Regions from separate parts of the Homo sapiens genome. Here region 2 is linked to region 1. The links are contacts of gene promoters, found by promoter capture Hi-C in blood cells and fetal thymus (Javierre and others, 2016). All regions are on one chromosome and are shown on one strand. The core of a region is centred on a gene start or on the middle of the fragment in contact, and the rest is flanking DNA. Distances in the headings are between cores, read along the strand shown. Region 1 holds the start of TCF23 (transcription factor 23). Region 2 overlaps MAPRE3 (microtubule associated protein RP/EB family member 3).

What was found. Contacts are between HindIII fragments. The CHiCAGO score rates a contact against its expected background, and 5 or more counts as called.
Region 2: a fragment that was not itself captured here is called in contact with the fragment with the promoter of TCF23 in region 1 in 1 of 17 cell types (naive B cells); the score reaches 5.2 in naive B cells.

What each region holds. Positions count from the first base shown.
Region 1 is chr2:27,147,491-27,152,129 of GRCh38, reverse strand. TCF23 (transcription factor 23) reads right to left here and starts at 3,126. Exons shown (of 3, transcript NM_175769.3): 1 at 2,775-3,126; 2 at 1,765-2,007. The coding sequence starts at 2,996. The HindIII fragment of the contact is 12,568 bases long and covers 1,006-4,639 here.
Region 2 is chr2:26,976,591-26,981,879 of GRCh38, reverse strand. All of the region lies in intron 1 of MAPRE3 (microtubule associated protein RP/EB family member 3), which reads right to left. Among named protein-coding and RNA genes, the nearest start is that of MAPRE3, 8.6 kb to the right of the region's middle. The HindIII fragment of the contact is 2,833 bases long and covers 1,815-4,647 here.

The DNA.
Region 1 (4,639 bases), core at 1,877-4,376:
GTTGATCACCTACTACAAGCAAGGGCCTTGCCTTGGTCACTATTTTACAGCGAAGGAAACTACTATATCATCCCAGGACCCTGCACCACCACTGACATTTCAGAGTTCCCCACTTAGTCTCAAATTTATACATTTTAGCTACATTTGCATTGAAGAAAAAAACCAAGTTTTAAGACATTTCAGAACTATGACATTTAGGGGAAAGAGGTGGTGAAAAGTATCATAAAAATAAAGTTGAGAGGTGAGAGGATCACTTGAGCTTAGAGTTTGAGACAAGCCTGTGGAACAAAGTGAGACCCCGTCTCTACAAAAAAAAAAAGAAAAAAAAAAGCCAGGTGTGGTGGCATAAGGCTGTAGTCCCAGCTACTGGGGAAGCTGAGGTGGGAGGATTCCTTGAGCCCAGGAGTTTGAGGGTACAGTAAGCTATGATTGCGCTACTGCACTCCAGCATGGGCGACAGTGAGACCCTGTCTCAACAATAAGTAAATAAATAAATAGTTGGGTGTGGTGGCTCACACCTGTAATCCCAGCACTTTGGGAGGCCGTAGTGGGTGGATCATCTGAGGTCGGGAGTTTGAGACCAACCTGGCCAAAGTGGTGAAACCCTATCTCTACTAAAAATAGAAAAATTAGCCGGGCATGGTGGTGCACGCCTATAATCCCACCTACTCGGGAGGCTGAGGGAGGAGAATCACTTGAACCGGGAGGTGGAGGTTGCAGTGAGCCAAGATTGCGCCACTGCACTCCAGCCTGGGCGACAGAGTGAAACTCTGTCTCAAAAAAATAATAGTACATATATAAATAAATAATAAAATAAAAAAGTTGATACCACTGCAATGTTATCCTCAGAGGGCAAAGATGACCCTTCCTTTTTAACACAGTGCACTCTTCAACCAGCTCCTTATGGCGCTGTCCCTGGAGACTGTTTAGTGGCTATGAGCTTAGGGTCTGAAGTCAGACACCCCTGAGTTCAAACCGCTTTCAGCCTCATAACCTCCCTAAGCTTCAGTTTCCTCATCTGTAAAGTAATCCTCATTTGGTTTTTGCATGGATTAAAAGACAAAAATACACTAACGTACTTAACCCAGCTCCTGGCCTATCTTTAGCACTCAACTGTTAGCTGTTATTGCAAAGATGATTAATGTTCATTAGACTTTCCATTTTGTACTCTGGAAGAGAAGTAAGGCTCATGTTAGCTTCTATTTTACGTGTAATAAAACTGAGGTTGAGAAAAGCTAGATTGCAGTCTGGCAAGTGGTGCGCGCCTTCCCTGTACTGCTGCCTGCTAACTCCCCCAGCTTGGTTGCTTCTAGAATGACGGTCCCTCAGACCGTTGTTCTCCTGGAGGACAGACCTCTCTTGCAACAGAAGCCTAGAAAGCACCAAGGCAGGCACAATGGGCTGAAGCTGCATGGGGATCTAGGACTCTCCTTGGTATAATTTCCTTTCCCAGGCCCCAGACTTGGAACCTGCTACATTTTTCCCTGTGACTCTAAGAACCCCAGAGTCTTTCCCTCCTCTTCAAGGAGGTGCATTCCCATGAAGCCATTTCCAGCCACACTCCCATGAGAAACCCAGGGTCAGCGCAGCCCCAAGGGTCAGCCTTGGCTCCTCTCCCTCTGAGACAGCAGGAGAAATTGGCTCCGACGTCAGTTCTGCACAGGGCAGGGGGCCCAAGTCCAATGTCCCCCCTCATTCCAATCCCTTTCTCCAAGGCCCTGGGCATTAAGATCCGCCTCTCAAGTCCCAGGGCTTGTGACTTACCTTGAGAGGGTGCAAGTAGCGGAGTCCACGCAGGAAGGGCGGCCAGGCAGGGCCAGGCAACTCGTGGCCGAGTGTGCGGGTGAGGTGGGCTATGTAGCTGGCGGCGAGCACCAGCACGTCCAACTTGGAGAGCTTGGTGTCGGGCGGCACGGCAGGCAGAGCAGCCTGCAAGGCCAAGAAGGCCTGGCGCAGCGTCCTGACCCGGCTCCGCTCCCGCGCGGCATTCTCAGGACTGGCCTCGCTCTGCACAGAGGGCCCCAGTGAGTGTGTGTGACCTGGACTCCCAACTGCCCTGACTTCTGAGAGCGTTTGAGCACAAGGTCTCCCACCAGAGTAGAAGGGTGTCTAGCAGTAGGCACCAGAGGGCCTCTGCCCACCTACGTCATCTGCAGCCCTGCCGCGTTTCACAGCTGAGGAAGTTGGGGGAAGGCCTGGCCAGGGGTCAGATGGCTGCAGGATGGCAGAGCTTGGCTCAGAACCCAGAGTCCTGTGTTCTCTCTACTACTCCACTCATGCCTCCTCAGAGCCTTTGTCCTGTCCCATGCCCAATCTGAATCCTGCTTATCAGGGTGTGCTGGGGCCAGGGGGAGTTCAGAGCTACACCCTGTTTGGGAGGGCGGACCCTTGACCTAGCCAGGTCCTGAGACGACGAGGCTGCTGTGGGAAAGAGGAAAGACACAGAACCAGGGGTCAAAGCACACAGGCTGAAGTCCCAGTCCTACCACTGGCTGCTGCTCAGTGACCTTGGGAAATTCACATCCCTCTTCCCGGCCTCAGTTTCCTCAAGAGAAGTGAGTTAGTGCAGCTCTCTGAGCTGCACTCTGGTTAAGACCAGCTCTGATCTATCCCAACTACCCAAAGCATGATGCCTTGGAGTCTAAGGGGCCAGTGTCCCCTCTCTTGGGCAGGAATGGTAATACTGAGTGAGGCTGTACCATCAGAGGTGACATCTCCCCACCTTCCAACCCCTTCCTCCCCTGGACCCCTCTGCAGGTGCAGGATTTCCTTACCCTGCCAAGAGCCAGGCCCCCAGCCCTGGTCCCTCGAGGGCCAGGGGTAGCTCTGCTCCATCTCTGGTTGCTCCAGCTTCTTTCTTCCCACGGGTCCTGCCTTGTCCTGCTGAGGCGGCTCCTCTTCCTGTCAGCGCCTGGCAGCAACCGTGCTTTGGCCTGAGTCTGGCTATGCCCCACCCCTGGCATGGCTGGTGGCCCTCTGGCCTTCCTCTGTGACATGCCACCCCACTGGGGCTGCAGCCCACAGAGCAGAAACACAGTGCCTGAGGAGGCCTTGGACTCAAGCTAGCTGGCTGTGGCTGGTCATCCAGCCAGCAATATCTACATCCGAGGAAGCTGGCGCCAACTCAGTCCTGTTTGCTCCCTGCTCTGGGAAAACCGCCCACCAGGCACAGCCCCCGCGAAAAGCCTCCGCCTGCCTCCTAACCCAGCTGAGAGGTGGGGGTGCTGGATGCTGGGAGTGGCCAAGCCTTGGGAGGAGGCCCATGCTGAAGAAGGCAGGAGGATAGTGGGGAAGGGAGCTCCTTTCCGGCCATGCCTAACCTCAACAGTGGTCCTATGGTGGACCTGTGACTTCCGCTTTGGAGCTCACGTCCATGGAGAGGACTTGAACCTCCTTCGTCTGTGCCAGAAGGCTGCCTGCATACATCCCTGAAAGGCCTTTCCTCCCCTTGCCAATGAACGTGACCTTCCAGCCACAGAGCGCGATTTGCCATGCCCCAAATATGCCTCCGATTTCCACTCTGTGTTTAAATTTACCTTTCCACGCCCCAGAATACCTTCCTCCAGCTCTGCCAGGAGGTACTGCCCATCCTTCAGGTCTCCGCCTTTCATTCGTGAAGACTTCAAATCCCGCAGGCCCAGAGCCCATGGGTCCCTGTTTGATTGGTACAATCACAGCCTGGCTACTTTCCCAGAAGTTCGATATTCATAGATTACTGTGTGCCAGGCACTGTGCTAAGCATCTTATTTATTTCTCAGAGCAACCTTTTAAGAAAAAAAGAGACTCAGTTTAGATGTGTGGGAACTGGTATACTGGGAGGTGAAATAACTTGCCCAATGTCAAACATCCGTTAAGTGGTGGGGTGGGATGAAAATCCAAGCCGTCAGTTGGACTTTGAAGGCTACCCCTCACCTGATGCTAGCCTGCCTCCCATGGGTTACTCACGCGTCTGTCCCCATGCTAGACATGAGGTCTCTGAAGGCAAGGACCATGGTGTTCCTGAGTTGCATCACATCCTCCAAGAGCTAGTTAGGAGAAGGCGGGCTGAAGGAATCGCGAATCTGCCACAGCAGCCCCTGCTGTCTTCCAGGGACCTCTGCCTGTAGCAGAATCCAGCCTGATGTCCCTTGTCCCCCATTCTCGAACCTCAGGGGAGATCAAATAAGTAAGGAGAAAGTAAAAAGGTGGATGTACAGTGAGAAAGATATGCAGCCCACCACAGAGAAAGGGAAAAAGAGGCCGGGCGCGGTGGCTCACGCCTGTAATCCCAGCACTTTGGGAGGCAGAGGCAGGTAGATCATGAGGTCAAGAGACGGAGACCATCCTGGCCAACTTGGTGAAACCCCGTCTCTACTAAAAATACAAAAATTTAGCTGGGTGTGGTGCCACGTGCCTGTAGTCCCAGCTACGCGGGAGGCTGAGGCAGGAGAATTGCTTGAACCCGGGAGGCAGAGGTTGCAGTGAGCCGAGATTGCCTGGGCTCCAGCCTGGGCGACAGAGCGAGACTCCATCTCAAAAAAAAAAAAAAAAAAAAAAAAAAAAGGAAAGGAAAGGAAGGAAGGAAGGGCCGGGTGCAGTGGCTCACACCTGTAATCCCAGCACTTTGGGAGGCTGAGATGGGCAGATCACGAGGTCAGGA
Region 2 (5,289 bases), core at 1,982-4,481, 170 kb after region 1:
ACAGCACATCTAAGAGTCGACTGTCAAGCCTGGGAAGATGGGCCTCCTTGGATTTTGAACACTACTGGAGTGTAGGTGGAGGAGGGCTGCTGGCTGGGTGCCACTCTTTTGTGACAAGCTGAGACCACAGAAGCCACTGGCTGACACGTGGAGGCTCCTTAGAGGCCCAGCACCTTTTCAAGGTAGGCTCCATGATCCAGCTCCATCTTCATTTCTCCTTCATCCATCTCAGCAATCCAGCCACACCCGGAAGGCACAGCTCGACTCCTGAGATTTCAAATATTCCTTTAAGAAATGTTAGTGGTTACACGTCTGTGTTAGAAACGTAAACATTATACAAAGATGAACAAAAGTAAAAGAAGCCTCTGCCAAATTTTAATATGAAAATCTTCCTCTGTCAGTGGCCTCCTTACTGCTCATCCCTCATATTCTAAACCTGTTTTCCGTTCCCACTGGCCCCTGTAATTCCTCTGCCTCCTCATTCTGGCTGACAACCAGCGCCTGTCTTCAACTTGTGGCCCTTCCTCTACCTCCGGCCTTAGGGCCAGCTACTTCACTGCATCTTAAGTTTTGACTCCTCAGAAACCTTGCCCTGAACATGCCAAGCAACACCCATTCCTGGTGCCCGTCCCCACTCACTGCTGCTTCTCTGGCCAGAGGACTTTAAAGACTCAGCCCATTATGAATTCATAGGTCCAATGCAGCATTCACAATAAGACCTTTATTCATCTCTCATATGCCCAGACTTATTTCTCACTGTGGGTAATTCAGACCTTCAAGAACTCAATTCCCCACCAACCCTCTCCCTCCCCCACCTCAGCAAGTGGCCTTGGCTCTATTTTACTAAAGAAAGAAAGGTCTTTTCTTAGGAGGAACCCCAGTAATCTATCCTGGACTTCACCCTAAAAGTCAGGGGTAGAAAGAGCCATGCCCTCTTCTCTTCAAAGGAACCTTTCCCTGGGATCCTAAAGATCATTCCTTTTTGCTTTATTTCTCTCTTGTCTGTGTACTATTTTCTTTGGATAACTCCTTTTCCCTTCTGCCATTAAACATGCTCAGACCTCCTTCTTATAAAAAATGATTCTTCGTCAATACCAAACTTTTACTCTAATTGAAAGTTGGTTAGATCACCATGAAGAACGTTGTATAAAAAGCTTATTTAAAAAATCGTACCCTTTGCACCTCTGTAATTCACTTTATGGAATATACCATGAATAAATAATCCACAAAAGAAAAAAATGTCACTTGTACAGTAATGTTCAAATCAGAGATATTTACACTTGCAAAATACTCCAACTGCCCAACAACAGATTGAGGTTAAGCATACTGGTATCAATATGATGGGATACCACCAAAGGAATGAAATATGTGAAGTTACAAATATATGGATTATGTCAATATAGAGAAGTCTGCAGATGAAGCACATTTTAATACACAAAATATATTTTAAGAACCACATACTACAATTTTATATGTTTGCTGATAAAGAATAGAATTATTTTACAAAAATAAAATATTTGATTCGATTGCTTCTTCTGGTTACTACTTTCTTTCCCTCCCTGCTGCCATTCTCTGGTGACCAGCCATTGCTTCTATTTTTCTCTGTCAATTTTCCCCTTAAACCACTCCAGTGTTTTACTGAATGGATACCCTAAGCAATCATCATGACTGCCTTCTAGTTAAATCCTTAAATCTAGTTAAATCAGCAGCACTGAAACTCTCTTCCAGACATTTTCTCTTCCCTTGCTGCTGAATCATCCTAATTTCCCACCATCTTGTTCCTTTTTTCCTAACTATGGACAGTTCTCAAAGCTTATTACTTGGGGCTCTGGTCTTTGTACTCTGCATGCAAGACCTCTGGAGAGATTCCTTTGAGGGAATCCAGCCCTCCTCTGTGCTGCTGACTCCCACTCTACAGCTCCATCCACAACCTGACCCTCAGCTTCCGGTTCTATGAGATCACTCAACTTGGATGTCCTGCAACCCACAGTCACGTTGTTTTTAGCTCTCTGTGTCTAAAAAGCAACTCCTTTCCAAACTGTCTCTTCAAACTTCCTAATTTCTGGTTAATGTCACCAATATTCTCCAAACTCAAAACCAGCACACATCCTCAGTCTGGTAAGGCTGCCCTGCCTACAAACCCCACCACACCCCTTCCCACGGCCATTCCTTTGCTGATGCTGTACCTTGCCTCCTGAAAAGCCCTCTCTGGTGTTCTGTCAACTCACAGCCTGCTCATCCTTGAGACAAGGTCAGGTTCTGCTTCCTTTGTGAAGTCTTGTCTTTTTTTAATAGAGATTGGCCCTTACTCTGCCACCCAGGCTGGAGTGCAATGGCATGATCATAGTTCACTGCAGCCTCAAACTCCTGGGCTCAAGCCATCCTCCTGCCTTGGCTTCCCTAGTAGCTGGGACTATAGGTATATGCCACCATGCCCGGCTAATTTAAAAACAATTTTTGTAGATGGGGTCTCGCTATGTTGCTGAGGCTGGTCTTGAACTCCTGGCCTCAAGTGATCCTCCCCCCTTGGCCTCCCAAAGTGTTGGTATGACAGGCGTGAGCCATTGCACCTAGACTGAAGTCTTTTCTGATTACTCCAGTTCACAATGATTATTTTCCTCTCAGCATCCTTTTGGAATTTAGACTCTGTAGTACCAGTGACACCCAATGCACTGTTCTTTTCATTTCTTTTGCCTCTCTTCCTCAGCTGTCCTCTGATGAGTCTCCACATCAACCTGCACACCCAGCTCCAGTGTGTCTTCATCTCTGAAGTCTTTCTGGTTCTCACAGGCTCAGGGTGACTCTTCCTTCTGGCTTACCAAAGCACCCTTTCCCATAGCTGATAAGGTTCCATCCCCTCATGTTACAGTGACATACAGTTTTGTGTCCAACTCTTTTGCCAGAATATTAGCTGAATTCCTTAAGGGCTGACACTGTGTCTTATAGAATAAGGCACCAAAGATGTGTTTCTGACATGCAATATTGTCATATGCACTAATCATTCCATATATCCATCTTGTCTTCCACACACATTACAGCCTCCTCATGGACAAGGGTTGAGTCTCATTTCCTTTATATCCCATAGTGACTAACAATACAAAACAGAGAAAGGGCTTGATGAAGAATACGTGCTGAGAGCATGCTTACATGTCTTGTGAAGATGATATGCAAATTTATATGAATAATCTGTAAACCTGGGAACTATACTTTTGGGGTAATAGAAGTCTTATCAAGTTGTCTCAAGACACTGTACCTTGCTATTTTGGGGCCAGCATAACACATCTCTGTACTTAGCAGTGATCCTGTCACTTAAGAGTGTTAATAGGATGCCTAAACTGAGAGCTTTCAGCTATGAGCTCTAAGCATCTAAAATCAGAACAAATCAAGGACCAAATCAGAGTCCCAGGTAAGTGTCAATAACCTTCAGGGAAGCGGGTGGGGGTGGAGGGTGGCTGGCTGCCAAGAGTCTGGTGCTGCGGAAAGGCCTGGCTACACAGCACACATTATGCCACTGGAGATAAGCCTGCGTGAAACACTCCTCACATGGGAAAGGTATCTAATTTCATCTAGTGGTCTAAGACCTGCCCCTTTCACATGGCAACACACACCTTAGACCCAACTATGATCTTGCTGACTCAGAAGCAGTTAAGATTTCATTTCTTACCAGTCAGAGAACACCATATAAATTACAAGGTGACCAGGACCACAATGCCCTCAAGATAAGATGACTGTTTCTCCCACAATCACTCTCTCCGAGTGGTGGAGTCTCTCCAGCCAGCCATACCCAAAGACTTGCTCACTAATAATTCCAGCAGCAGGGAAGGCCTCCACCCCATCTAGGACAAGTATTTGGGTAGCCAGACCATTTGGAGGAAGAGGCAGATCCTGCTTAGCAAACATTTATCACAGCACAGTTCGAGCTATGTGACAGGCCATATGTTCTTCAACTCGAAGTCCCGGATCCTCAGGAGGAGGCCAAAGTGCCCCTTTCTCAGTGCTCAGAGCTGGGCAGACTCCACCACTGGTTGAAGGCAGGTATCAGTCCACTGGACTGGGCCATCTAGGCAATGTACAGTGTGTGTGTGTGGATGGGAAAGATGAGGCCAGAGGACAGCTGCCCGGCCAGGCCCTACCAACACAGTCAGCAGCTCCATGGACCTGGTGTGGCACAGGGGGAGTGGCCTAGCCTATGTCTACATAGGGCTCTGCCCATCGGGTGGCCACAGGTGGGCACCCAACCCTCTCTATCCCTGGAAGGAAAAAGGGCCTCTGAGCTCATGGCTGAACGGAAGGTGACAAAGGGCAAAGGGAGGAAGGCAACTGTAGTGGGCCTGGGCAGAGTCTTTTGAAACAGACAATTCAGACAGGTGCACATCCACACCAAAAAATGAGCAAAACCCTCAAAAAAGGCCCCTGGAACACTGGAGAACTGGGAATACAGAGAATCTGAAAAGACACCTGGGAAAAGAAGGCCACCCAAAACAGAGCCCTGTGGTATACAAGGTTTTACTAAAACCTTCCGATACATGTAAACAGTAAAAGGAAGAGGCAAAGAAGACTCTAAAGATTGCTCTACTACATGGAATCTAGAAGTCACTGGTTTTAAAATGTCATAATTAAGTTATAGTTGCTTAATGCAGAAAAGCTTAGAAAACACCAACAAGCACTAAGGAAAGCCATTCGTTTTTAATCCCATTACTCAATCACTTATGACTTGGCACATGCTCTTCTAGTATCTTTTTCATGTTTTTCTTTATAAATATGGTTTTTTCCTTGGCATACTATTTTTCATCCTGCTTTTTTCACTGATATTAAAAGTTCTGGTATTAATATTCTTCTCCAAATGTTTTTAATGCCATGCAGTATTTTATTTGGGCGAGCCTGACCAATCCTCAGTTGCTGGCACTTTTGGTTGTTTTCAATGTTTGATATTACTAGTAATGTTGCATTAATAAATCTTTTACAATTATTTCTGTACACACCTCTGATTTTCTAAATATTGCTAGAATGGCACTTTCTGGTCTAAGGATATACATCCTTTTAAGCTTTTTTATATATAGTCAAGCTACAAGGCAGATTTGAAGCCATGCTTCTTGCTCAGTTATTTTAAATGTATCACACAAGTGGTATGTATCTCCTATATCTAGGAAATAGTTTCAGGGAAAAAATCATTTTGCATGGAGTTAAAGCATTTTAGATAGGACAAGTCCTTATTTACTTGAGGCAAATGAAGCATCCAGAGCCTAAAACACTGACGTTATGCTAAAAAGTTGACTAACAACATCTGGT